Regions from separate parts of the Homo sapiens genome. Here region 2 is linked to region 1. Evidence: promoter capture Hi-C in human tissues and cell types (Jung and others, 2019). All regions are on one chromosome and are shown on one strand. The core of a region is centred on a gene start or on the middle of the fragment in contact, and the rest is flanking DNA. Distances in the headings are between cores, read along the strand shown.

Evidence for each region. The method cuts DNA at HindIII sites, captures the fragments that hold promoters and counts their contacts. A contact is called where the count stands out against the background at its distance.
Region 2: a contact is called between a fragment that was not itself captured here and the fragment with the promoter of ISLR in region 1, in 1 of the 25 tissues and cell types used here (liver).

Annotation. Positions count from the first base shown.
Region 1 is chr15:74,172,400-74,175,107 of GRCh38, forward strand. ISLR (immunoglobulin superfamily containing leucine rich repeat) reads left to right here and starts at 1,311. Exons shown (of 2, transcript NM_005545.4): 1 at 1,311-1,620; 2 at 2,452-2,708. The coding sequence starts at 2,460. RefSeq lists enhancers at 56-1,044, 1,045-2,032, 2,033-2,708. The HindIII fragment of the contact is 13,967 bases long and covers 648-2,708 here.
Region 2 is chr15:74,112,318-74,115,025 of GRCh38, forward strand. It overlaps a transcript of ISLR2 not described here. Among named protein-coding and RNA genes, the nearest start is that of ISLR2, 17 kb to the right of the region's middle. The HindIII fragment of the contact is 8,895 bases long and covers 1-2,708 here.

The DNA of each region.
Region 1 (2,708 bases), core at 61-2,560:
CATCAGACTCGGGTGTTTTGCAGGCAGCATGCTGGGGACTTCTGTGGCCTTGCTTGGTGACAGGGAATGGGGTGTGATGAGCTGGGGCAGGCTTCCTGGGGATGCTTTCAGCCAAAGATGAGCCCTGTCTGCCCTTGGCCCTGCTGAGAGGGTAAGTTGAGTCATGAGCAGAATTCAACCAGTTATCAGATGGAAGGCCAAGGAAGCTTGGGGAGGGCTACTGAGGGGATACGGTAGGCTTGTCTGTGGAGAGCAAAATTCTTCAGTCTACAAAGTTCTTTTCTGGGCTCCTTCATCTTTCGGTTTCTCTTCCAGCTCCCTCGTTTTGGGCCTCTTTTGTTTCCCCATTCCCCTCCCCTGGGCCTTCCCGTTTGGAAAAGGGGTCACATATCCTCACCCTGGAGGCGTCTGCCCCTTCCACACAGTTGGTGTTGGAACAGTGGAGCTCAGAGAGGCCGATGCTGACCGCGTAGATGTCCAGCACCAACAGTGGGATTTTGGGCCCTGTGGGGGACACAGAGAGAACTCTCCGGGAGTGCGGCCCCTTGGCCTCCCCTCTGGGTGCCCAGTGGGCAGTGGGCCTGGGTGGCTCAGAATCCCAGCCAGGAGCACTGAAGGTCAACAGGCTCCCGCCCTGAGTTTTCTGAGCCAGGCCTCCCTGTTTCCTCCCCAGCCAGTGGGGAGCGCAGTGAGGGGCGGGGCCTGGAGTCTTGGGAGCTCCCTGGACAACAACATGCATTTAGCGCAGCTCAGTCTCAGAGCCAGCAGGATATGTTTTCTTAAAAAAAAAAAAAATGCCTAACATCTTGGCTTTCACCGAAGGGTTGGTATCTGCTTTGTACACTTTGGCCTTCTTGGCTTTTCACTGAAACACACACACATGGATGCACACTCACTTCCACACACAAACCCACACCAAGACAGACACACACACACACTCACACACAAACTCATGTACATGGTTTCATACCCACATCCATGCAAACACACATACAAATCCAGAAATACGCACCCTCACACCCACAAACTTGTACACACACACACACGTATACACACCAACACACATACAACCCTGGCTTGGACAAAAGCTTCCCGTTTTTTCTTGTTTGAAGTGGAAATCTCCCACCTTCCATGAGATTCAATTTCTCGCCCTTCCCCCGCTAAAATCCTCCTGGCCCCATCATTTCTTGGGTCCTTTCCAGACAGTGCTGTGTCTTTAAGGAAGTTGAAGCTGCTAAAAGTGAGTGAGAGAGAGAGAAAAAACACAACCCAAAAAAATTTGGCATCTCTTCCCCCCTCAAGTTTCTGGTGTCACTTATGAAACACAGGTCCTTGTTGCTGCAGAGAAGCAGTTGTTTTGCTGGAAGGAGGGAGTGCGCGGGCTGCCCCGGGCTCCTCCCTGCCGCCTCCTCTCAGTGGATGGTTCCAGGCACCCTGTCTGGGGCAGGGAGGGCACAGGCCTGCACATCGAAGGTGGGGTGGGACCAGGCTGCCCCTCGCCCCAGCATCCAAGTCCTCCCTTGGGCGCCCGTGGCCCTGCAGACTCTCAGGGCTAAGGTCCTCTGTTGCTTTTTGGTTCCACCTTAGAAGAGGCTCCGCTTGACTAAGAGTAGCTTGAAGGTAAGCCAGTGGGGAGGAGGGCTCCAGGGCCAGCGGCGGGAGCGGGAGGCCTGTTGGACATAGGGGCTGGTTCCCTCTTGGTCCATCCCTGCTGGTCTGAGGTGCGTGGGACAATCCCTAGCTTGGAGCCGTCCAGGGGGCATCTGCTTCTTCCACAACCCACAACTGAGGCCCCAGAAATCCCAGCTGCGTTTGGGCTGAGCCTCTGGCCTCACCCAAGTCAGCTGAGAGGTCCTGGCGGGGGTTTATTTAGGCAGCTGCCTGGCTAAGTTTGAACAGAACAGGCCACGGGTGTGATTCCACAGAAAAGGCCTGGTGTCTGCTGCGGTCATGGCCGGAGGAGCGGGAGAGGGCGGGTGGAGTGGATGGGGGTGGTGTGCACTGCACAAGGGGCCTCGTCTGGGCCAAGGCAAAGCATACCTATGGGGGGCTCCGGTGGGAGGGACTGCGGCCAGGATGTGGGAGGGCAGGGGGAGGTTCTGCAAAGTGCTGGGGGAGGGGGGTGGCTGGAAAACAGATTTCAAGTCATAAAGTCAGCTAGGAACAGGCCGAGGCAGGGAGAACTCTCCACTCGGAGGAGGAGCTGGGGTCCTCTTCCATCCCGTCTTCATCCTGCCTGGCTGCGTGACCTCGGGCAAGTCTCCGCCCTTCTCTTGGCCTCAGTTTCTCCTTCCGTAGGATGGGGGCGGTGGGCTAGGTGGTGTTGGGATTTAGCTGGGTTATGTGGGACAGGGCCTCCTGATGGGAAAGAGCTCTGGCTGGGCTTGTGGGAGGAATGAGTCCCTTTGGCAGGTTCTCGGGATCCCCTGGGTGACATGCCTTTCTCTGCAGGAGGCACCATGCAGGAGCTGCATCTGCTCTGGTGGGCGCTTCTCCTGGGCCTGGCTCAGGCCTGCCCTGAGCCCTGCGACTGTGGGGAAAAGTATGGCTTCCAGATCGCCGACTGTGCCTACCGCGACCTAGAATCCGTGCCGCCTGGCTTCCCGGCCAATGTGACTACACTGAGCCTGTCAGCCAACCGGCTGCCAGGCTTGCCGGAGGGTGCCTTCAGGGAGGTGCCCCTGCTGCAGTCGCTGTGGCTGGCACAC
Region 2 (2,708 bases), core at 119-2,618, 60 kb before region 1:
GTTAAATTTAGATTTCTGATAACAAATAATTATTTAGTAAGTATGTACCATGCATATTTAGGACATACTTATACTAAAAATCATTTCTCTAAATTCTCTTTTAACCATCTTCACCAAGGGTTGATATTTCTCTAAATTCTTTAACGTATGTATGTAGTTACTTTAAAGCTCTTGCCTGCTAATTCCAATGTGTGAGCCATTTATGGGTCTGCTTTTTTTTTTTTTTGGAAATGGATTTTTGCTCTTGTATCCCAGGCTGGCATGCAATGGTGCCATCTCAGCTCGCTGCAACCTCCACCTCCCAGGTTCAAGCAATTCTCCTACCTCAGCCTCCCGAGCAGATGGAACTATAGGCGCATGTTACCACGCCCAGCTAATTTTTGTATTTTTAGTAGAGATGGGGTTTCACCATGTTGGCCAGGCTGGTCTTGAATTCCTGACCTCAGGTGATCCACCCACCTCAGCCTCCTAAAGTGCTCAGATTACAGGTGTGAGTCACTGTGCCCGGCCCTTTTTTTTTTTTTTTTTGAGACAAGATCTCACTCTGTTGTCCAGGCTGGATTGCAGTGGCATGATCTCAGCTCACTGCAACCTGCACCTCCCAGGCCCAAGCCATCCTTCCACCTCAGCCTTCCAAGTAGCTGGGACCACAGGCACATGCCACCAGCAGTCCTGACTGGTTTCACGGAAGACAATTTTTCTACAGACGGGGTCAGGGGTGGTGGTTATGGTATGAAACTGTTCCACTTCAGATCATCAGGCATTAGATTCTCATAAAGAGTGTGAAACCTAGATTCCTCACATGTGCAGTTCACATTAGGGTTCACGCTTCTATGAGAATCTAATGCCTGCTGATCTGATGGGGGGCGGAGCTCAGGCAGTAATGCTCGCTGTCCACCACTCACTTCCTGCTGCGCAGCCTGGTTCCTACCAGGTCACCGACGGGTACAGTCCACAGCCTGGGGGTTATGGGCCCCTGCACACCACCACACCCAACTCAGTTTTGAATTTTTAGTAGAGATGGGGTTATGCCATGTTGCCCAGGCTGGTCTCAAAGTCTTGAGCTCAAGTGATCTACCTGCCTTGGCCTCCCAAAGTGCTAGGATTACAGGCATGAGCCACCATGCACGGTGCATCTGTTTGTATTGACTGGTTTTCTCTTAATTTTAGGATATATTTTCTCGCTTTTTCACACATCTAGTATTTCTTGAGCTGTTGGACGTTGTGAACCTTCATTGTAGAGATGTGGGTTATGTTATCCTACTCTAGTGTTGAGTTTTATTTTGGCAGGGAATTAAATTGCTGTTGGGTTAACTTGATCTTGAGTGTCAAGGCTACATTTTAGGTTTTGTTAGGGTGAGCTGTTTTTCAGTTTTGCTCTTATTCCTAGAGAATCTTCCTTAATCCTAAGGCATGGCCTTCTAGGCCCTCTGTGAATGTCTGGGATATTCATCAAGACCTGAGATTCCAAGAGTGGAGACTCTGGCTGAGCCAGAATTCAGATGTGTTTCCAGCACTCTGTGACCACTGAAATCGCTGTTTAGCTCTCAGCTCCCCATCAGCTGTTCTGTGCTGGGCCTTGCAGAGTCTCAATCCACACATTCAGAGTTTGGGATTTGGCCAAGGACCTGCAGCAACCTCTATAAGATTTCTGGGGCTTCTCCTCTGCAACTCCATCCTTTCTGATACTCTGCCACACACATTTTAGCAGCCCTGAGCAGCAGTCTCTGTTTCCTCCACCAAACAAGACTGATCCTCATTGCCTGAACTCTGCTTCCTCATGCTGTCATTGAGGGTTTAGAAACTTTCCCCACCAGAAAAACACAGCAGTCACTTCATGTGATTCCCTTCTCTCAGATTGTACCTGGAACTGCCTATTGCCCAATGGCTGAAGACAATTTCTTCATGTACTTTGTCCAGCTTTGTAGTTGTTTATGCTGGGAGACCATCATCAATACAGGTACTCCATCATGGCCACAATTCGAAGTACGATTAATATCATATTCATTCTATTCTAAAAGTAGAGAAGACAAAGACCAACAGTTCTAAGAAAAATGGAAAAATATATATGAAAGTTCAAAGAAAAAGAAGCGCAAATGCCACTGACACACAGGAAAAAATGTTTAACTTCACTGATAATAAGAAAGATACAATTTTAGGCCGGGTGCAGTGGCTCACACCTGTAATCCCAGCACTTTGGGAGGCTGAGGTGGGAGGATCGCTTGAGGCCATGAAGTGGAGGTGGCAGTGAGCCGAGATGGCGCCACTTGGGGTGACAGAGCAAGATCCTGTCTCAAAAAAAAAAAAAAGATACAGATGTAAACAACATCCTGCAACCTCTACATGTGGCCATGATTGCTAACAGGGACCAGATTTGCCTCCCACCTTGAACAACTAGAAAAATGGAACAACATATATAAAACAATAGTTTTCAGACATCAGAGAACAGGTCGAGCAGAACTATGATCCCTAAAAGAAGGTGAACCCTACAGTGTCCTCAGTTTACTGCCGGAAGCACTTACAGGCTCCAATGCAGGGAGGGAAATCCAAAGTCCAGTGGTCTTGGTGGATTGAGGAGACAGAGATCAGAGCTTGGGAAGATCTTCAAGGCTGGTAGAATTTGTGAGGTAGAGTACCAGGGAGGAGGTGGGAGAAGAGAGCACATGAACTCTGGAGAGCTATGGAAGATGCCCTCAAGCCTTTGGCAA